5 separate regions of the Homo sapiens genome follow, and all the other regions are linked to region 4. The links are contacts of gene promoters, found by promoter capture Hi-C in blood cells and fetal thymus (Javierre and others, 2016). All regions are on one chromosome and are shown on one strand. Each heading gives the region's core, a stretch centred on a gene start or on the middle of the fragment in contact. The rest is flanking DNA. Distances are from core to core; before and after follow the strand shown. Region 1 overlaps SSU72 (SSU72 homolog, RNA polymerase II CTD phosphatase). Region 2 overlaps MIB2 (MIB E3 ubiquitin protein ligase 2). Region 3 holds the start of TNFRSF18 (TNF receptor superfamily member 18). Region 4 holds the start of AURKAIP1 (aurora kinase A interacting protein 1). Region 5 holds the start of SDF4 (stromal cell derived factor 4).

The links. The method cuts DNA at HindIII sites, captures the fragments that hold promoters and counts their contacts. A CHiCAGO score of 5 or more calls a contact.
Region 1: a contact is called between a fragment that was not itself captured here and the fragment with the promoter of AURKAIP1 in region 4, in 1 of 17 cell types (M1 macrophages). The highest score is 5.3, in M1 macrophages.
Region 2: a fragment that was not itself captured here is called in contact with the fragment with the promoter of AURKAIP1 in region 4 in 4 of 17 cell types (fetal thymus, erythroblasts, endothelial precursors and 1 more); the score reaches 9.5 in fetal thymus.
Region 3: the fragment with the promoter of TNFRSF18 here is called in contact with the fragment with the promoter of AURKAIP1 in region 4 in 3 of 17 cell types (activated CD4 T cells, non-activated CD4 T cells and naive CD8 T cells); the score reaches 5.7 in activated CD4 T cells.
Region 5: the fragment with the promoter of SDF4 here is called in contact with the fragment with the promoter of AURKAIP1 in region 4 in 1 of 17 cell types (total B cells); the score reaches 5.0 in total B cells.

What each region holds. Positions count from the first base shown.
Region 1 is chr1:1,565,970-1,570,143 of GRCh38, reverse strand. The region is part of intron 1 of SSU72 (SSU72 homolog, RNA polymerase II CTD phosphatase); the gene reads left to right. Among named protein-coding and RNA genes, the nearest start is that of SSU72, 6.8 kb to the left of the region's middle. The HindIII fragment of the contact is 5,161 bases long and covers 118-4,174 here.
Region 2 is chr1:1,616,671-1,621,196 of GRCh38, reverse strand. All of the region lies in intron 2 of MIB2 (MIB E3 ubiquitin protein ligase 2), which reads right to left. Among named protein-coding and RNA genes, the nearest start is that of MIB2, 3.4 kb to the right of the region's middle. The HindIII fragment of the contact is 1,337 bases long and covers 2,511-3,847 here.
Region 3 is chr1:1,205,179-1,209,196 of GRCh38, reverse strand. TNFRSF18 (TNF receptor superfamily member 18) reads left to right here and starts at 2,605. Exons shown (of 5, transcript NM_004195.3): 1 at 2,605-2,812; 2 at 3,705-3,827. The coding sequence starts at 2,626. RefSeq lists silencers at 170-279, 860-949, 3,822-4,018 and an enhancer at 146-1,025. The HindIII fragment of the contact is 24,444 bases long and covers 1-4,018 here.
Region 4 is chr1:1,372,627-1,376,673 of GRCh38, reverse strand. It overlaps AURKAIP1 (aurora kinase A interacting protein 1), which reads left to right and starts at 1,467. Exons shown (of 4, transcript NM_017900.3): 1 at 1,467-1,520; 2 at 1,884-1,969; 3 at 2,229-2,674; 4 at 2,772-2,938. The coding sequence starts at 1,918. The coding sequence ends at 2,873. RefSeq lists silencers at 1,477-1,656, 1,677-1,726 and enhancers at 776-1,681, 3,969-4,047. The HindIII fragment of the contact is 3,347 bases long and covers 1-2,085 here.
Region 5 is chr1:1,228,991-1,233,250 of GRCh38, reverse strand. It overlaps SDF4 (stromal cell derived factor 4), which reads left to right and starts at 1,250. Exons shown (of 7, transcript NM_016176.6): 1 at 1,250-1,359. It overlaps B3GALT6 (beta-1,3-galactosyltransferase 6), which reads right to left and starts at 1,014. Exons shown (of 1, transcript NM_080605.4): 1 at 1-1,014. The coding sequence starts at 972. RefSeq lists enhancers at 1-614, 615-1,296 and a silencer at 913-1,772. The HindIII fragment of the contact is 46,076 bases long and covers 1-4,260 here.

The sequences.
Region 1 (4,174 bases), core at 1,449-3,948, 190 kb before region 4:
TTTTGCTTTTGAAAATTACCTGTTTATGTCCTTTGTCTATTGATTTGGGTTTATTTAGAGAGTTTTAATACTCAGAAACTCTGTGTGATAGTGCTTTTCTGTTACACTGGGAAAGCTTGTGAAAGTCAGATTTAGAGAGTCTTTTAGGCGTTAAAAATGATGTGAAAAGCGTAGGAAATGCTTATGGTAAGTGAAAAAAGCAGGAAAATTGTATGCAGTTGGGTAGGGCTACATAAAACTGCACAGGAAAGCTGAAATAAAATTGTCAGAAGGAATTGTAGTTAACTGAGCAGGCACAGTAGCTAGCTGATCAGTGAACCTCGCCCCTTTTAAAAATTTTGGGCCTGGCAAGGTGGCTCTTCGGCCTATAGTCCAGCACTTTGGGAGGCTGAGGGAGGAGGATTGCTTGAGCCCAGGAGTTTGAGCCCTGGGCAACACAGTGAGACCCGCTATCATTACAAAACATTTTAAAACTTAGCCACATGTGGTTGCACATGCCTGTCATTCTGGCTGCTTGGGAGACGGGGCAGCAAGATCACTTGAGCCCAAGAGGTTGAGGCTGTGGTGAGCTATGACTGTGAGCTGTGACTGCGCCACTGAACTCCTGGCTGGACGACAAACCAAGTCTCTGTCTCTAAAAACAGACACAGTAACAATTTCACCCTATTGAAAATCAGCGTGGACTCTATTTTCCTGATAAATCCAAGTGATAGTAAGTGTCGACATGTTAGCGTTCTCTGGGGTGATCATCTTTGGTGTTAGAGACTAAATTGTTTCAAATACCAGAGTCCTGGGAGTCCTCATGTTTCAGGGCAGCGCCAGAAGACTCCGCCGTACGTTTCCACAGAGCCTCCTGCGCTTGGTGCTCCAAGGATTAAAGTGTCCCCTTGGAACCAGTTAGGTTTTTTGTTTGTTTGTTTTGTGGCTTTTTGTTTTTGTTTTTTTGTTTTTTTCTTTTATTTTATTTTTTGAGACGGAGTCTCATTCTGTCGCCCAGGCTGGAGTGCAGTGGCAAGATCTCGGCTCACTGCAGCCTCTGCCTCCCGAGTTCAAGCGATTCTCCTGCCTCAGCCTCCTGCGTAGCTGGGACTACAGACATGCACCACCATGTCCAGCTAATTTTTTTGTATTTTTAGTAGAGACGGGGTTTCACCATGTTGGCCAGGCTGGTCTCAACCTCCTGACCTCAGGTGATCTGCCTGCCTTGGCTTCCCAAAGTGCTGGGATTACAGGCGTGAGCCACCGTGCCTGGCCTTATTTATTTATTTATTTTTACAGACAGGGTCTTACTGTGTTGCCCAGGCTGGTATTGAACTCCTGGCCTCCCAAGTAGCTGGGATTACAGGCATGAGCCACCACGCCTGGCTAGTTTTGTATTTTTAGTAGAGACGGGGTTTCTCCATGTTGGTCAGGCTAGTCTCAAACTCCCGACCTCAAGTGATCCGTCCTCCTCCGCCTCCCAAAGTGTTGGGATTACAGGCGTGAGCCACCATGCCCCGCCTGATGGCTTCTTTATGATAGTTTTTTGGAGTTTTTTTGAGACAGAGTCTCACTTTGTCACCCAGGCGGGAGTGCAGTGGCACCATCACGGGGCCCACTGCGACCTCCACCTCCCGGGTTCAAGCGATTCTCCAGCCTCAGCCTCCGGAGTAACTGGGATTACAGGCGCGCACCACCACGCCTGGCTTTTTTTATTTTTTTATTTTTTTTTTAAAGTAGAGACGGGGTTTTGTCATGTTGGCCAGGCTGGTCTCAAACTCCTGAGCTGAAGTGATCCACCTGCTTGGTCTCCCAAAGTGCTGGGATTACAAGCCCTCTGATAGATTTTTGGTACTTGTAAAGACAGTTGTTTGGCATACCAGACAAATACTTGTCTGGAAGATTAGTTTACAAAGGCGTTGGCCCTTCAGGCGAAGCCTGTTGGTGTCAGGAGTGTTTTCCAAGCTGTCCTTGCTTTTATGTAAGAAACGCTGTTGAGTCGCAAGCTGGCTGCCCTGTCGGTTGCATCAGTTTGGGAGAAATACTGCTTCTGTTGCTAAATAGCCTTTTTGCCATTCGTGAACCTTTTGTTGGGGGAAAAACAAACTGCATTTTGTTTTTAAATAGGCTAACTTAAAGGAACGTCCAGCAGGTGGTGAGTTCTTGTTGGTGTTGGGAGGCAGGCTGTCTCCTTTGGCTGCTGTGATCACGCTGATCCTGGGCTTCTTTGTGCGATTTTTTTTTTTTTTTTTGAAACAGAGTATCGCTCTGTTTCCCAGGCTGGAGTGCAATGGCGCGATCTCGGCTCACTGCAACCTCCGCTTCCGGGGTTCACGCAATTCTCCTGCCTCAGCCTCCCGAATAGCTGGGATTACAGGCGTGTGCCACCATGACTAATTTTTGTATTTTTAGTAGAGATAGGGTTTCACCATGTTGGCCAGGCTGTTGTCGAACTCCTGACCTCAAGTGAGCCACCGCGTCCGGCCCTTGTTTGTGCTTTGACGGAACATATTTTATTGTATGTTGTCTGAATTGGTAAGGAAGTCATTTTAGGCTTGTTGTTTCTCACGTGTGCTCCCTGTGGTATGCCTTGTGTCTGGGCCTCCGTCACCCTCTCAGTCACAACCAACAGTTGACTTTATTGCTTTAACCTCATGTTTCCGTCAGGATCTGTGGTTATGACTGAATGTCAGGAATTTTAATTTTAGCATTTTCACGTTTATTTCACAGTCCGGGTGCCGTGAACACGGGTTTGTAGTCATGAATCGCTGCTATTGTGCCACATTTCTGGCCGTGTGTGGTAGATGTTTGGAGAGCCGGGTTGTGTAGCTCGGAATATCTAGGGATGTAAGGACTGACGCAGCTGTCATCAGCCTCAGGGGACTCAGGTGTTTCACGTACACTAGATGAGCACATCTTCTCTGTGTGTGTGGGTGACGTGTGTGGTGGCGCAGCAGGGTGCCCTTGGGCTCTTTTGCTTCCTCTACTCATCTTCGGAGGTGCGCGTGGAGCCGCATGGCCTGTCCTGCCCCATGGATGGATTATTCTACTTGTCTGTTCTTTTGTGGCTGTGGAAGGCCGGCAGTGGGCATCCTGCAGGCAGCCATGTTGCAGAGGCACGTGTATGTCCGTAGGGCGGGTTTCTAGAAGCCAGTGTCTGTGAGAAAGGCACAGGTAGTTTTCACTTGCTGGGTGTTGCCCCATTATCCGCATAGAGACTGGTTACACTCCAGCAGCCCCCTCTGCCTGAGTTTTTCCTCTCTTGTGACACTGTTACTCATTCAACATTCAGTAATTTTTTTTTTTTTTTGAGACAGGGTCTCGCTCTTGTCGCCCAGGCTGGAGTGCAGTGGCGCGATCTCAGCTCACTGCAACCTCTGCCTCCCGGATTCAAGTCATTCTCCTGCCTCAGCCTCCCGAGTAGCTGGGACTATAAAAGCGCCCGCCGCCTCGCCCGCCTAATTTTTTGTATTTTTAGTAGAGATGGGGTTTCACCATGTTAGCCAGGCTGGTCTTGATCTCCTGACCTCATGATCTGCCCACCTCGGCCTCCCAAATTGCTGGAACTACAGGCGTGAGCCACCGCACCCGGCCTTACTTTTCTTTTTTTAAAATAATATGGAACTCCTCACGTGTCTGTGTGTCATTCTTGCTCAAGAGCGAAGCAGCAGCACTTTTCTGAACAAGAATGACAGGCCTGTAAGAGGAGTTTAGTGTTAATGGAAGTGTATGTGCGCCCTGCGCCCTGAGCCAGGCAGATTCCTTCAGATGCAAACCTTTTGTGATTTATAAATAAAGCTAGGTTGAGAAGTCTATATTTTTTAGGTAATTATAAGTATCAGTTGTGACTTTACAAGAACACATGTTCTATACCAAAGTAACTTTTTTTGTTGTTTTTTTGGGACAGAGTCTCGCTCTTTTGCCCAGGCTGGAGTGCAGTGGTGAGATCTCCAATGTCTGCAACTTGTGCCTGCTGGGTTCAAGCGATTCTCATGCTTCAGCCTCCCAAGTAGCTGGGATTACAGGCACGCACCACCATGCCCAGCTAATTTTTTTTTTTTTTTTAGTAGAAACGGAGCTGGGGTTTCGCCTCCTGGCCAGGCTAGTCTGAAACTCCCAGCCTCAGGTGATCCATTTGTCTCGGCCTCCCAAAGTGCCTGGATTGAAGGTGTGAGCCACCGCACTCGGTGCCAAA
Region 2 (4,526 bases), core at 1,930-4,429, 240 kb before region 4:
CCCTCGCGGGGCCTCTGAGGGCAGCCCCCAGGTGGTGCACTGCTGCGTCCTGTTTGGCCAGGACCCCACCAGCTTCAGCTTTGACTGAATGGCTGCATGAATGAAACATAAGAACCAGAGAGAATCTGTGCCAGGCTTCTGTGACAGCGGCAGCCCCTGTGTCCCGAGGACCCGCCCAGCACAGGCCGCTTCTAGCCATCCCAGCGCTGACTGCGCCTCACCCAGAGCATGTCCAGGTGGACACAGTTCCACCGGCCAGCCCAGCTCCATGGCCCCACCTGGGTCATGACACTTGACTCTCCAGATCTCTGCAGACCCTCCCATCCCCACTGGGGGCTGTCTTGGAGGGAGGTCACTCCCTCCTGCCCCAGCAGCTCCCCACTGCCTGCTCTGCCACCAGCTGGGGGGCAGGCTCTGCAGGGTTCCTGCTCCCAGGATCCACAAACTGACCTCAGCTTTTGCCCATGGAGCACCCAAGAAGGGTGAGGCATGGCCTGGGCTGAGCTCCCCCACTCCAGCCTCCTCTACACAGGGACCTTCGCCACAGAATGGCACAGGCCGGGGAGGCCGACGCAGCAGTCTGCTGGCGGGGGGACAAGTGAGAGGGGCACTGCTCCTTAGGGTTGCAGACCCCACCCCCTGCCAGGCCGTCCACCTCCACCAGATCCACACGCAACCTCCTCCTTGCCAGGATCCCACCAGAATCGGCCACAGCTGGAATCACACTAAGCCGGGGACTCCTCCCTGCCAAACACCTCCACTTAGCCAGAGCAGGGCTCATCACAGGCAGCCGCAGAACCGACTGGAGGTCTTTGCTAGTAGGGGACACGCATCTGCCGACCCCCGAGATGGGCCCGGCAATGGAGATGAAGGACTTGGGACCGCAAAAAAGCCAATGCCATGAGCCCACACTGTGATCCTTCTGCAGCAGGGGGCGCCTTCTGTCTCTGCGCCCAGACTCTCAGCCACAGCCAGCTTAGCCCAGGCCAGCGGCCACACCTGCCCGACCCGCTGGCCATATGCCATTGGACCTTTCCAAAAAGACAGGGGCAGGGTGCCCCATGTGTGAGCCAATGTGTCCTGTGCTTTGGCAAATCTTGCCCTTGGGGGGATGGGCAGAGGGCAGAGATGTCGGGGAGGTCACCAGCAGGGCCTCTGGGAATCAAGACCAAGCCTTGGCGGCCCCCGCGTCACAGGGGCAGTGGGGTGGAGTGCCAAGGCCATCAGCCTGAGACAGGGTAGCCTGTGCCCCAGACTGGCACCTGTCTGCAGCATGCCCGGTATTTTTAGCACAGCCAGGCAGCTCTCCAGCCCTGGCCCACAAACCCCCACCCTCCCAGAGGCTGTCCCTCATGGAAGCCCACCTGAGTTGGGGCACAACTGGGCTGAACACAGGCAGGGCTTCCTCCCTGGCCTCACTTCTTGTGCCTGGAACCAGCCCCCCACTTGCTGAGGGCTGCCCCAACAAGGGGGACGAGCCTGGACAGGGGAGCTGGGTGCGCCCACCCACTCCCACCTCTCCCCGGGGGCTGGGATGTGAGCACACAGGGGCCTGTAGACCCGGCGCCTCCTCAAGGCCTCCCCTGCAGGGCCCCCACCCCAAGGGTCTGGGGTCTGTCCCACTTCCAAGGCAGTCCCTTCTGTCCAGCATGGCACTGCCCTGGAGTGGCCGCCTCATCTGAGCGGGGTCTCCAGCCATGCCTGCCCGCCTGCCAACCCTTCTGCGGTGCCAGTGTGCAGACAGACCACATGCGCGTGGATCCCAGGCTCAGGAGCTCAGTATCCTGGACCCTCTGGAGGGGCCAGCAGTTTTGGTTTTTTTGAGACGTAATCTCGCTCTGTCGCCCAGGCTGGAGCGCAGTGGCGCAATCTCAGCTCACTGCAAGCTCCGCCTCCCAAGTTCACGCCATTCTCCTACCTCAGCCTCCCGAGTAGCTGGGACTACAGGCGTCTGCCACCACACCTGGCTCATTTTTTCTATTTTTTAGTAGAGACGGGGGTTTCACCGTGTTAGCCAGGATGGTCTCGATCTCCTGACCTCGTGATCCGCCCGCCTCGGCCTCCCAAAGTGCTGGGATTCCAGGTGTGAGCCACTGTGCCCGGCCGCCAGCAGCTTTTGAGGCTCTGCCGCCTTTCTCCTCAGCTCCTTCCTGCAGCTGCCTGCCTGGCTTTCTCACCATTGCCCCAGGGCCAGCAGTCACCCAAGACCTGCCACTGGGCTCCTGGCACCCTGGCCCCAGGGCTCAGTACCTGCCTCCGAAGGCCTCTCTAGGGGGTGTTTGTGGTGGGGGCAGGAGGCAGTAATGAGACCCCCACAGGCAGGGAGGAGGGGCACCCCGCCAGGACCCAGCACTTGTATCCCTTGGTCTCTTCTCAAAGGGGACAGAGTGCACCTGCTTAGGGGCGGGAGGATCCAGCCCAGCATCGAGGGGCCTGCCCCATTCCCATTGTTCATGAGAGGTGGGGGCTGTGGGGTCGCACAAGCAGCCTGCCCATGTCAGAGGGAAGCTTGTGGACAAAAGGGCTCATCCCTTGGGCTTCCCTGACCATCCTGTCCTCCTGGGGCCATGGGACAGGTTCTGGGCTGGGTCTGGGTCAAGCTGACCCCGAGGGTACTGGCCACAGGACCCATCCCCTGGGCAGGCCTGGGAGCAGGTGATGTGGGGCTGGCGCTTGGCACACCCGCTGCAGACCTCAGGTGAGGACTTCCTGGAGGCAGGTGAGGAACACCAGATTAGGGGTAGGAGTGGGGTGGGCAGCCTGGAAATCAAGCCCTCTAGGACAGATGTTCCCCCAAGGGCCCCTCACTCCCTCTGCCTCCACCCTGGACCTGTCCAGCATCCATTCCTTCCTGGAGAGCAGGAGGCCTCTGGGTTGCCCCCTCCTATTTTTCTGTTCTACACCCACAAGGCTCCAGGTGCAGAGGAGGGGACCCGTGGGACCTGATCACCCTGATCACCTGCCCACAGCGGGTGAGCTCTGGGCCAGAGGCTGCTATGGGAAGTGCAGATGTCCAAGGCTAGCCCTGCCCTCACACCAACCTGGCCAAGGTTTCCCAGAAAGACAAACCAGAGACAGCCACAGCCACAGCCCAGCACTGGTGGAGGGGCTCCAGGGAGCAGACCAGCAGACCAGAGCTGTGGCCACGCAGCCCCTGGTGTACATCGTGGCGTACATGGCTGTGGCCACTCCTGCTCCTCCTCTTGGAAACATACAGCCCAGGCTTCCGCTTCAGGATGCTGCCCCACAATGGGTATCTTCATCTCAGTCAGAAATTTACTCAGAGAGTTACCAAATGTTTTTTCCTTTGCCAGAAATGCTAGACTTTGCCATCTACCCACAGTTCACAGGCTGTGCCCCTGGCTGGCATCTGAACCCCGCTGCAGGCAACTGCTCCCGATGTTTAAAATGATGGAGGCAGTCAGGGTGTGAAGACTCGGGCGACAGATCGACAGATGTGCTTTGGCAAATCGGAACTTACCTCAGAGCACACACCAGCCTCGAGGCAGCGTCCCAGGCATTTAATTGCTACTTCCTGGGTCACAGATTCGCTCGGCTACCAGGCTTTCCTGTTGGAAGCTAAAGCCACTGGAGACACAACACAGCAAACCAGACGGGCAGCCAGCAAGCCAGGCTGGAGAAAATGGTTTCTAAAGGCAGTGTCACACATTTAGCATTTACCGTCTTAACCACGCAAGCAGACACCGGGTCTGTTCTATTGCTGCTTAGTTTCTCTTTTTCACAAGAAACTGCAAGCTCTCAGAGGGCAGGAGGACTTCCGAACCATCAGTCAGGAGAGTGTAGGAGGAGAGAGTTCCCTTATTGCAAGTATTTTATCGGAGAAGCTTTAAAAGCCATAGAAACCAAATCCTATTTAGCGAGAAAGTTAGCAAATTGCCTTTATTCAGAAGAAGCAAGTTACATGGAACTGGACATGAGGCTGCCCTCCTCCTTGCACCTCCAGCTGTGCCTAATGACACCGAAATGCCGCTGTGTGTGGCACGCCACAGGCCATGGAGTAGCTCCAGCTAACGCAGATGGACATCCCAGGTGCCCCAGGGAGATCAGGCCCACGGAGTGGGATGAAGCCCTGAGGCGGGGAGGCCAGCATGGAGACACCTGCTGAGGGAAAGCCCACGAGCGCTGCGGCCACCTCCAATCCTGCCCATCTGGGTGGAGACCTACAGGCACCCTGCAGGCTGGGGTGTCATCCCACTCACCGCCCAGGGCTGCCCTCGGCCAGGAGAGCGCCACATTCAGACACTTGTTGCATGTGAGGCAACAGGCCAGGGTGGAACCGGACAAAGGGGGCCTCCCGGGAAGGGCCAGGCTTGCCGGCGCTCCTGCGCTGCGGCCGCTCTGCCCCAATCCTGCAGGTGCCTATCAGAGGCCTGTCTGGCACCTCTGCTTTCTTCCTCCATGGGTTCCGAACTCAGAGAGGAGACGCGGGATTACTCACCACTCCCCTCCACTCGCATGCATGCTCAGACACAAACACAGCCTCTCTGACGTGGCTTCCACGGAGC
Region 3 (4,018 bases), core at 1,356-3,855, 170 kb after region 4:
ACGCCCATCTCTGGCCTCGGGCTGCCCTGGACCCCTCCTGCCTCTGCAGCTGGTTTTCTCCCCTGGGTCTCTCTCTCCTCAAACCTCTGTCTTCCACCCACTCTCTGCTAACCACAAGCCTCCCCCCCCGCAGCATAGGGAAGTCAGAGGCCGTCCTGTCCCCCATCCAGCACCTTCACCGAGTTCCCCGGGTTCCTGCACACGGTTCAGCCTGCAGGCCCTGCACAGGGTTGGGGCCGCGCCTCTGAGAGCCCCCCGCCCCCCGCCCCGTGGGGCAGGCGAGGCCAGACCTCCAGGCAGGATGGCGGGTGGGTGGGGGAAGGGGTCAGGTGGCCGGGACTGGAGCGGCCAGATCCTGTGGGGCCCGCAGGTCGACGGCTATGGGAAAGGGGCCTCCTCCCCAAACCTGGCGCCCATACCCATCGCTTCCTGTCTCCTCCCCTCTGGGCACAGCACCCCCCAGGCCCCGTGGGACTTATTCCCCAGCAGGACCCCTTGCCGCACCCCCAGATGGACACGGGGCCACCTCCTCTTGGTCTCCATGCTCACCCTCCCCGCCCCCTCGCCTGACGCCATCTCTGCTGGCAACTCCTGTGCCATCTGTGCCGAAGGCCCTGCCTGAACTCTGGCTCAGTGCCCATCTGCACCCTCCCCGTGGGGCCTCACAGCTGCCCTTCTGGACGTACGCAAGGGCTGTCCCTCGCCCGGCCCGTGGGCTGCTCTGCTGTGTGAATGCCCCGTCATTTGTGTCACCGGTGAGCTGCTCAATAAGATGAACAAGTCACCTCCAGCCTCGCAGCCCAAGGATAGGAGTCACGGGGAGCCGGGGAGGGGCCTTCTGCGGCGAGAGGGATGGGAGGGTGGACGTCACACCCCTGCAGCCCCTCCGGGGACCACCCTGTGTGGCAAGCTGCTCTCCGGCTGTTCAAAGTGTCAGCTGCGCCACGGGGCGGGGGGGAGGGGCTCCTCTGCCCGCTGGCCGCCTCCCACTTGGCCCCATAAACTGCTCGCTCCTCTAACTCTGTCCCTGCCTCTAGATGGATGACTCACACCGTGTGGTCTGATGAGCATTCTTTATTTTTTGTGATGGAGTCTCGCTCTGTCACCCAGGCTGGAGTGCAATGGTGCCATCTTGGTTCGCCGCAACCTCTGCCTCCCAGGTTCAAGCAATTCTCCTGCCTCAGCCTCCCGAGTAGCTGGGATTACAGGCGTGCGCCACCACGCCTGGCTAATTTTTTTTGTATTTTTAGTAGAGACGGGCTTTCTCCATGTGGGTCAGGCTGGTCTCGAACCCCTGACCTCAGGTGATCCGAGGCCCACCTCGGCCTCCCAAAATGCTGGGATTACGGGCGTGAGCCACTGATGGCGCCTCTTTCTATCCAGGGGCCCAGACCCCCTCCCAGCCTCGGGGCTGAAGATCTCCAGGCCTCTCAAAGGCCCCCAGGCCCAGCTGGCCCCACCCCTTTCCTTCCGAGCGTCGGGGCGGCCTGGAGCTGCAGAGACCCCTTCCTTCTCTGCAGTGTCTGAGGGCTGCCTCTCCAAGGCAGGCTCCTACATCTTGGATTTGAGAACTCCGGGGTGTCACAAACAGCTAATTCCTGTCATTTACCTTGGAAAAGGAGGAACCGCCTTACGGGGTGAGGCGGTGGCTGCAGGTCTCAAAAGGGTGTTGAACCACATCCACGCTCACGTTCCCGAGAGCCCCCACCCCCAGCATTCATGGGGGTCTCCACCTGTGCTGGACGGCGCAGAAGCAGGGCTGGGCAATCCAGGGAGGCTTCCTGGTGGAGGCAGGGTCCCAGAACCCCTCGGTGCCCACAGGGGAAACTGAGGCTCAGAAAGACATAGGACAGTCTCCCAAGAGCTCTGCGAGGGGCTCCTCCTCAACTCCCTCCGGGACCTGGATCTGTCTGGTGTGACGGATGAAGGTGGCTCTGAGAGACCGGGCCCTGGGTGCCCGCGGGGGCGGCTGACACTGTCCCGAGGAGGCGCCAGCACCCTCTCGTCTCCCCACCAGCTCCTCCTGGTGCCCCTCCCAAGCCCCGGGGAACTTCCCAGGTTGGCCTGAGGGGGGTCCTGGAGAGCTGCAAGCAAGGGGGAGGGGAGCCCACAGGCCTGCAGCCCATGGTGAGTTTCACACCTGAAGCCAGCCAGGTGGGGTGTGCTGAGCCGAGGGGTCCCTGTCCCCATTCTGTGGGGTTCCCCAGCACGGGGCTCCATGGTTGAGGCTCTCTGGGGGTGGCCAGAATTTGTGGAGACCTCTCGGGGACTCGCAGATACCACCCGGAGGCAGTGGGATGGAGGAGTGATTGGCTGACCCCCGCCCTCCAAGGGGCCCCCATGGGACAAGGTGCTATAAACGCCGCCCCCTGCACTGGGGACACCAATGTGGCCGCAGACTTTGCATAGAAAACCTTTCTGATCCCCGCCAGCCTGGTTTCCCCGCCCCTGCCGGCGACCTGCGGGGGACCGGGCTGTGTCCGCAGTGTCTACACCCCCTCCTCACACGCACTTCACCTGGGTCGGGATTCTCAGGTCATGAACGGTCCCAGCCACCTCCGGGCAGGGCGGGTGAGGACGGGGACGGGGCGTGTCCAACTGGCTGTGGGCTCTTGAAACCCGAGCATGGCACAGCACGGGGCGATGGGCGCGTTTCGGGCCCTGTGCGGCCTGGCGCTGCTGTGCGCGCTCAGCCTGGGTCAGCGCCCCACCGGGGGTCCCGGGTGCGGCCCTGGGCGCCTCCTGCTTGGGACGGGAACGGACGCGCGCTGCTGCCGGGTTCACACGACGCGCTGCTGCCGCGATTACCCGGGTAAGTAAACCGCGTTTACTTAACGCGGACCGGCCAAGGCGTCCCGCGGAAGCCGGGATGGGTGGGCGCCCCCCTTCCCGTGCTCAGACCGGCGTTGCTGAGGTCTAAGGAGGGTGGGCACAGAGCCGCCAGCAGCGGGAGCCTTCCGGAGGGAGGCAGGATCCCAGAGGGAGGCGGAGGTGTGCCAGCTCCAGCCAGTGGCCCCGGCCGGGAGCAGGGGTGAGCCAGGTGGGAGCGCCCTCAAGAGGGGTCTGGGGTCTGGAGGTGGAGGACGGCTGTTCCAGGTCCTGCTGGGCGGGTCGTGAGCCCTTGGCCATCGCCCAGCCCCCTCCTGCCCAGTTGAGGGCCCCCCTGCACCACCGTCTGGCCTGCTGCCTGCCTCTGACCTGCACCTGGGGATGAGGGTTCAGCTGACACGGCTGGTCTGGAGAGGAAGCTGGCAGGGAAGTCACCCCAGAGCTTCTTCCTCCAGGGCCTGTGGGTTGGGAAGGGAGGCTCTGTCCGGAGGCCCAGTGTGGCTGGTGGTGGGGACAGCAGCGCCCAGACACCAGGCAGGCGGCCTCTGAGGTGTCGACGGGCCTCCAGGGGACTGTGCACTGTTGGGGGCCACCCCTGGGTCCTGCAGGGGCAGCTCCTGGTTGCATATGGAGTTAGCACCTGGGCAGGGGCAGCTGTGGGGCGCAAAGGGGGAGTAGCCAGGCCACATGGCCCCAGGAGAAAGAGACAGCTGGATAAACCCAGGGTCCAGACTCCCAGCCAGGAGCCCTCTGCTCCCTGGAGCCAACTGTGGGTGGAGAACGGACAACCTCACTCCCCTGGAGGGCCGAGGGGAGGCCTGGGGAGGAGGGGGCCTCAGCCCAGCTGCTGGGGGGCTGGCCTGTCTCCTGCCCAGGCGAGGAGTGCTGTTCCGAGTGGGACTGCATGTGTGTCCAGCCTGAATTCCACTGCGGAGACCCTTGCTGCACGACCTGCCGGCACCACCCTTGTCCCCCAGGCCAGGGGGTACAGTCCCAGGGTAAGTCCTGGAGGTGCCTCTGGGAGTCCACACAGGCCAGGGGTTCCACTAGGGCCCGAGGCAGAGCTCGTGGGCACAGGTGTCCGGCGAGGACATGTGGTGTGTGGGGTCCGGAGTCCTGTGAGGCCGGGCAGGCCAGGCCATGCTCAGGCACCACAGGCCATGAAGCTCTGGGGGTGTCCTGTCCCTGC
Region 4 (4,047 bases), core at 218-2,717:
TATTTCTGGTTCTCTGGTTCTTCTCAACATGCTCACCTGTTCTCTGATGGATTCTTTGCATCTCCCTGGACCCCAGCCGGGTGAAGACAAACACAGGGGCACCAAGGTGAGGGCTGCTCTGGAGGCACCAGTCTGCTCATTTACGGCCAAATCCACTAGGGGAAGCTGTGCAGCAGGGGTGAAGGGCGGGCCCGCAAATAACGTTCGTAAACCTTCCTGCTTGGAGTCCCAAGTAGCCCCTCTGAGGGGTAACGTAGAGTCATCTGGGGACCTCAGTTGTAGAGGTGGGCCTGGAGCCTGAACTTTATGTCCTCACACTGGCCTATCCTACCTGTCACTCACTGCTTAGCCAGGCTGGGCCCGGCAGATGACCTGGCCTTTCCACTTCCTGCTAAGCGTCCCTGGAAGACCCTCCTGCAAGGCAAGTCTCCGAGCAGGCCCAGCAGGCTCTGCTCCACACCCCTCTCCCACCAGGCGCCCCTGCAAGTCCATGCTGGGGTCTCTATATTAGCCAACCTCACGGAGGTCAAAGGGGCCTGTCTGGAGTAGAAAGGTGAAGCTACACGTTGGCAGCGCCTACTCTGGGGAGCATCATTAGGGGCTCAGCCAAACCCAATCCACCAGAGAGGCTGCTTTTAGTTCTCAGACAAAAAGTGTGAGTCTGATTTTTATTTTATTTATTTATTTATTTTTTTGAGACAGGATCTATGTCACCCAGACTGGAGTGCAGTGGTGCGATCTCGGCTCACCGCAACCTCTGCCTCCTGGGCGCAAGCGATTCTCTTGCCTCAGCCTCCCGAGTAGCTGGGATTACAGGCGCCTGCCACCACGCTAGGCTAATTTTTGTAGTTTTAGTAGAGACGGGGTTTCACCATGTTGGCCATGCTGGTCTCGAACTCCTGACCTCAGGTGATCCACCAGCCTCGGCCTCCCAAAGTGCTGGGATTACAGGCCTGAGCCACCGCGCCCAGCCTGCGTCTTATTTTTTTTTTTTTAACCCCAGGAATGAGGAGTCGGGGAGGCCCGGTACCGCAGGCTCAGTGCTTATTCCGGGTCCTTGGTCTCTAGCAAAAACGGGGGAAATAGCTCTAGACGCTTCCGCCTTCCACGTAACTCCACTTCCGTTGCCAGATACGTCACTTCCGTAGTCTTGAGCCCGCACTTCCGTCGGCCCGTTGGGAATCCGGCCCCTGGGTGGTCCGGAAACGATTCTGGACCTGCGGGTATATCCAGGGCCCGCACCCCCTGGGATTGTGGGAAATGTAGTTTTTTGCCTCCGTAAGGGACCAGGCGGAGCTGAGGAACCGCGCGAGGACTGGGACCGTGATTCCACTAACCGGAAACCGTCGCCTTTCGGGCCCGGCGGGGCCTGAGCCAATGCAGAATCGGGGGCCGCGAGGACGCCAGCGGGCGCTGTGCGTAGGAACCGCCGGGTGGCCGCTGCCGATCGGGGCCGACTTGGGGACGGACCGGAAGTGCCCGAGGGCGGCCGCAGAACGGTCAATTTGAGCCGCGTCGAGGTCGGGCTTGGGAAGGGTCAGCGGGAGGCCTGAGGGCGCCGGGCGCTGCGGCAGGCGGGCCCGGGGTCCAGCCGAGAGGGTCCGGGCGCCAGGCAACGCGATTCGCGCGGGGGTGAACCCGGGGAGGGGGCCGGCCTCCCCGTTCTGGGACCTTTCGGTGCGTCCGAGCGCGACACCGCCCGCGTCGGGGGCTTGGGAGCCTCGGGGCGCGAGCTGTGTTGGAAGCAAAGTCCTCCTTGTGGGTTGGGGTGGCGGAGGGAGAAGGGAAGCGAGGGTCGCGGCGGGACCAGACGCCCCAGTCCCGGCCCGCCCGCGACTACTGAAGGCGCTGCCGCCTGACCTGAACGGGCACTTGTGTTCCAGCTCCCCTGGGACCTGTGGCCGCCGCCCACAGACCATGCTCCTGGGGCGCCTGACTTCCCAGCTGTTGAGGGCCGTTCCTTGGGCAGGTAGGAAGCCGCGCGGGGGCGGATGGGAGGATGCACACCTGGTTAGGAGTGCGGGTCTCAGCAGCTCCGCTGGGGCAGGGCCGGTGGCCACACACACACTCTTTCCCCTCTAAGCTTCCGATGCTCACAGAGGGAACCTCAGGGGTTCAGGCCAGGAATGAGGTGCGGGGGATCCTCGCTGGGACGAACCTGCTGCTCCTCAACCCGACGGGCCTGTGTGGTCTCGCGAGCGGTGACCGTGGCGTCTGGTTTTCTGCAGGCGGCCGCCCGCCTTGGCCCGTCTCTGGAGTGCTGGGCAGCCGGGTCTGCGGGCCCCTTTACAGCACATCGCCGGCCGGCCCAGGTAGGGCGGCCTCTCTCCCTCGCAAGGGGGCCCAGCTGGAGCTGGAGGAGATGCTGGTCCCCAGGAAGATGTCCGTCAGCCCCCTGGAGAGCTGGCTCACGGCCCGCTGCTTCCTGCCCAGACTGGATACCGGGACCGCAGGGACTGTGGCTCCACCGCAATCCTACCAGTGTCCGCCCAGCCAGATAGGGGAAGGGGCCGAGCAGGGGGATGAAGGCGTCGCGGATGCGCCTCAAATTCAGTGCAAAAACGTGCTGAAGATCCGCCGGCGGAAGATGAACCACCACAAGTACCGGAAGCTGGTGAAGAAGACGCGGTTCCTGCGGAGGAAGGTCCAGGAGGGACGCCTGAGACGCAAGCAGGTGAGTGGCCCCCTGCTTGGCCCTGGGAGGGCAAAGTGCTGAGAACACGTTTCTTTGCCACGAATTACTTGGCGGTCCCTCTCTCTGCGTCTTGCAGATCAAGTTCGAGAAAGACCTGAGGCGCATCTGGCTGAAGGCGGGGCTAAAGGAAGCCCCCGAAGGCTGGCAGACCCCCAAGATCTACCTGCGGGGCAAATGAGTCTGGCGCCGCCCTTCCCGCCCGTTGCTGCTGTGATCCGTAGTAATAAATTCTCAGAGGACTCAGCCTTTCCTGCGGGTCTGGAGCTCCATTTGCCGGGTGTGAGGTCTCTCAGGATTGAGGCTGCTGCCAGTCCCAGGTGTTGCAGAAGACCCGGGCAGCAGGGTGGCAGATTGGCCGTCCCTCTCTCTAGCTGGCTCTTGGCCGCCGTCCAGAGGGTGCTGGGCCTGTAGGAGCCCCAGCCTCGCTGTGAGCAAATGTGTGCTGTGTGCAGTTCAGGCTAGGTGCTGTGGGATCACTGTGAACAGATCCCACAGCCCCTCCCTGAGCACCACATTCCCTGGGGAGGCCGACCCGGATGGCAGAAGTACAGGGGGACAGGACTGGGGTTTAGGGAGCACCCGGAATGCACGGGGTGATTCAGGTGTATTTCATGAGTGGAGGGTCGGGGAGGGCCTCATTGGGAAGGCAGGAAAGGTTCTGGTACCACTGGCAGTGGTGGATGGTGCCCGCCAGGCTCCGTGGACGTGATCCTCCAGTGGCCCTCCAAGCTTTCCGGCTACAGGGCCAGGGTGTTGGCCTTCCCAGGCATGTCTGCCATCTCCTGGGGCCCTGAGTGGACGTGGGGACTAAGCAGGAAGAGTTGTCCCAGAAGGGGTTCGGGGCTGGGGGGTGGCTGAGGAAAGGGTCTCGTTTACAGGGCCGAAGAATCCCTGAGGCTTAGGTTGAGCCAGAGGCCCCTGGTGTCTCCACGTTCCTCTGGGTGAAGAGGAGGAACGCATTATTCCCCCCCCCTTTTTTTTTGAGGAAGAGTCTCATTCCATCACCCAGGCTGGAGTGCAGTGGTGCGATCTCAGCTCACTGCAGCCTCTCCCTCCCAGGTTCCAGTGACTCTCCTGCCTCAGCCTCCTGAATAGCTGGGATTACAGGTGCCCGCCACCAAGCCCGGCTAATTTTTGTATTTTTGTTAGAGACAGGGTTTCACCATGTTGGCCAGGATGGTCTCGATTTCCTGACCTCAAGTGATCTGCCCGCCTCAGCCTCCCAAAGTGCTGGGATTACAGGCGTGAGCCCCTGCGCCTGGCTGGAACATGGTATTCCTAAGAGCAGGGATGTGCAGGGGCCCTTGGACTTGGGTAGCAGGGCATGGGTGGGCACTGGGAAGCTGCTGCCC
Region 5 (4,260 bases), core at 1-2,500, 140 kb after region 4:
TCTCTGGCAGCACTGCGAGGGCGGCGCGGACCAGTCGTACACGTAGGACAGGCGCAGCTGCACCTCGCGCTTGCACAGGCGGCCCTCGCGCGCCAGCGTCGCGTGCTTCTCCAGCATGTCCTCCAGGCTCTGCTTGTGCGTCACCAGGTACTGGTTGCTGCAGCCGCGGGACCGGTATTCGGTGTCGAAGCGCGGGTCGTGCTCCCGCTGGACGTCCACCGGCGCCAGCCAGGCGCCCAGAGACACGTCCTCGCTGTGCCAGGCGCGCAGGTAGTCGCGGCTGAGGCGCAGGTAGTGCACCAGGTCGGCCGAGAGCACGTAGCCGCCGCCCAGCGCGTAGGGCAGGTAGTAGTCGCAGAGTTGCCAGGCGGCCTCGCGCCAGCGCCCCCCCGGCTTGACGCGGCCGCGGCCCGAGAAGAAGCCCCAGTAGAGGCGGCGGCGGCGCGCGGGCTCGCGGGCGCGCAGCTCGGCCAGCAGCGCGTCCAGCCGCGCGAAGGAGTCGTCGTCCGCCTTGAGCACGAACTCGAAGGCCACGTGCTCGTCCAGCCAGGCCAGCATGGCCAGCACCTTGGCCGTGAGGTTTTCGTAGGCGTCGCGCAGCGCGGGCAGCAGCAGCAGGTCCCCGTGCCGCGCCTGCTCCCGCTCCAGGGCGCGCCGCTCCTCGGCGCCCAGGCCGGCCGTGCCCACGGCAAAGCGCGCCCACACGTCGCCCGGGGCCCCGCGCCGCGCAAGCCACGTGCTGCGGATCACGCTGCGGCGCTCGGCGGCGCGGGGCGCGCTGGCCACCAGCACTGCCAGGAAGGCGGCGGCGCGCGCGGGCGCGGGGGGAGGCGGGCTGCGGCCCGACATCGCCCTGGGGTCCCCGGGCTCGGCCGCGCAGCGCGCCAGGTAGAGCAGCGCCGCCCCGCACAGCGCCAGCGTGCCCAGGCCTAGCGCCGCCCGCCGCCGCCACGCCCGCCGCAGCAGCTTCATGGCGCCCGCGCCGGGCCGGCGGCCCAGGCCGGACTCGCGAGTGCGCAGGCGCCGCCGGCTCGGGGCGGTGCGCGTGCGCACGGCGCTCCTGGGAGCGCGCCGGGGCCTTCCGCAGACGCCGAGCCCCGGGGCGCTCGGAGGCCGGCGGCCAATCGGCGGCCGTCACGTGGCCTCGGGCACCCTTGTCATTGGTCAACCTCGGAGCGGCCCCGCGACCGCTTCCGCCCGGAGGAGAGATGGTGGCGCCGGCGTCCCCTCCGTGAGGTCGCGCCCGTTCGCACCGCCCCCGCCCGCAAGAAAGATGGCAGTGGCCTGATCCGGGCCCGTTGGCGGCGTCACTGACGCTTCGCTCCGGTCCTCGGATCCCGAGCGCGGGGAGGCAGACCGGTGAGTGAGGGGCCCGGGACGGCCGCTGCAGGCCGCGGGGCCAAGTGTACGCCGGCCGGACGGCGAGGGCGGGTCTGGAGGCCGCCGCCGCCTCCCGCCTTGGGCTGGGGCATCGTCCGTCCGCTCGGCCTTGAGCCCTGGCGAGACTCCGCCGCCACCGGGGCTCCCGGGGTTCCCGGGGGCAGGGACAGGCCGACGACGCTGGCCTCCCCGGCCGCCGGCACGTCTGGTCTCCTACTGGCCAAAACCTACGAATGCCACCGGGAAACGGAGGCCCAAGGGGTCTGGTTGGACTCGCGTTTATCGGCGAGGCGACCTTGGACAAGCTGCCCCGCTTCCCTGCGCCTGCGCTTCCGCTTCTGAACCGCGTGGACCCTCATCCCCAGTTAGTAGGATTTGGAGATGTGAAGTCGGCTGTGTGGAGCCCTTGATGTCTGGCTCAGAGGCGGTGTTATGAACCCTGTTGAGCTTTTAGAATCTAACCGTGTGTGTTGTTAACTGCCAGAAATAGCCTCGTTCCACCAGAGCTGAAGCCCAGGGATGGCAAAGAAATAGCGTCTCTGCCTAAGCTGTTTCCCACGTCCGTTTTGCAAGGGTGTGTTGATTCCTTGCTGGGAACTGAGCTGCTAGGGGATGGCGAAGTCGAAACCCCATTCCGGTGGGACCGGCCCGCTCCGCTGTGCTGCGAACCTGGCACACCGTGATGAATAGATACTCTGAAGCCAGGAGAGGAAGCGCCACTTGATGGACTCCTGATATTTATAGTTACTTTTGGGTTACTTTTTATTCCCCCTTTTTCGAGACAGGGTCTTATCTTTTTGTTTTTGTTTTTTAAAGAGACGCAGTCTCACTGTGTTGCCCAGGCTGGTCTCACGATCCTCCTGCCTCAAGTAAACCGTGTAACTCATCAAGATATGTAGAATCAAGAACTAGCTTTATTTTCTCTAGGAACAAAGTACAGTCTCTTTGCACACAGCGTGTGTTTTACGACTGTAGTTAGTGGAGTCAGCACCAGGAGGAGGTGTCTTGGTTCTTATCCAGGACTCTCCCCTGGTCAGGCGATCTGGGACGACAGGAATAGAATTATGCCACCACTAGGGAAGGGAAAAGCCCTCAGCCATGTTCAGAAAATCAGGCCGGGTGCATGGCTCACGCCTATAGTCCCAGCACTTTGGGAGGCCGAGGCAGGAGGATCACTTCAGGTCAGGAGTTAGAGACCAGCCTGGCCAACATGGCAAAACCCCATCTCTACTAAAAATACAGATTAGTGGAGAGTGGAGGTGGGTGCCTGTAATCCCAGCTAACTGGGAGGCCGAGGCAGGAGAATCACTTGAACCTGGGAGGTGGAGGTTGCAGTGAGCCGAGACTGCACCACTGCACTCCAGCCTGGGCGACAGAGTGAGACTCTGTCTCAGAAAAAAAAAAAAAATCAGACATGAGCCCCTCACCCAGGGTTTCCTTCCTTGGGGGAACTCAGGCTTGTACCCCTCTTGGTTTGTGGCAGACTGCACTGACTTCAGGACCACTTTCATGGCGGCCCCACTGGTGTTTCTCGATACCTGGAGGCAGCATTTTTTCGTTTAATATTACCCAGGGTAGCATTCGTTGAGCGCCTACTGTGTGCAGGCAGAGTGGCAGGTGCCAGAACAGTGAAGCTGAATAAGACGGCCACAGAACAGGAGTCTCAGTCCATGTGTGTTGAGGGAACAGCTGTGACATGGCGGGGCCTCAGCGGCACCCGAAAGGACCCGCAGGTGTTTGCCGGAGGGGCAGACTGTGAAAGGAGTAGGCTCGTGGGTGAGAAGGACCCCGAGTTCCCTTTGGGATACATGAGGCATGAGGCCCTGTGAGCCCCTGCTTCCCACCAGGACTGGCCACGCCTCGGACGGCAGGACAGACTTCTGGGCTCCTCGGCCTTGGCGTTCGCTCGCGAGTGTGGGCAAGGGCACATGTGTGTAATACGTGCATGCGTGAGTGTGGATGTGTGTGTGCACATCTGTGTGTGGGGGTTGTGTGTTTGTTTGCTGGGACCAGGCCCTGACGCCCTCTGCACTTAGGGTTGGCTGTCTTCGCAAAGCCTGGTCAGTCGGGGGGAGAGGGGGAGCCTCCTGTTTCTTAGTGAGAAGCTGAGGCCGGGGAGGCCACATGACTTAGCTAAGGTCATAGATCTCAAGAATGTTCAAGTCAGGGTCTGGAGAGTGACCCTAACCCCATGGGTCAGTGGCATGATGCCAGGAGGGACAGAGCCGGGCCCCACAGGAAAGCTGTGCTGCAGGTGTTGGGCGATGGGGACAGGTTAGCCCCTGGAGGTGCTGACAGCTCGAGAGAGAGATGGAAAGACGGAGAGACAGGGCTGAAAACTCAGTGTCTGTAAAAAAAAGACCGGGCACAGTGGCTCACGCCTGTAATCCCAGCACGTTGGGAGACTGAGGCAAGAGGATCGCTTGAAGCCAGGAGTTTGAGACCAGCCTGAGCAATACAGCGAGACCCGTCTCTACAAAGAGTAAAATAAAAATAAATTACTGGGCGTGGGGGTGCACGCCTGTGGTCGCAGCTGCTCCGGTGGCTGAGGCGAGAGCATCACCTGAGCCCAGAGCATCACCTGAGCCCAGGAGTTCGTGGTCACGGTGAGCTGTGGTCACCGCTGTACTCCAGCCTGGGTGACAGAGCAAGACCCTGTTTCTAAAAATAAAGAAAAAAACACCACGTGTGGTCCGGAGAAAACAAATGCCACGTGTGGTCCAGAGAAAACAAATGCCACGTGTGGCCCGGAGAAAACAATGCCACGTGTGGTCTGGAGAAGGCAGTGCCACGTGTGGTCTGGAGAAGGCGATGCCACATGTCTGGATCCTGTGAATCGAGGATATGTTTCATGTTGCAGGATAGACGTGCTTGGGGAAG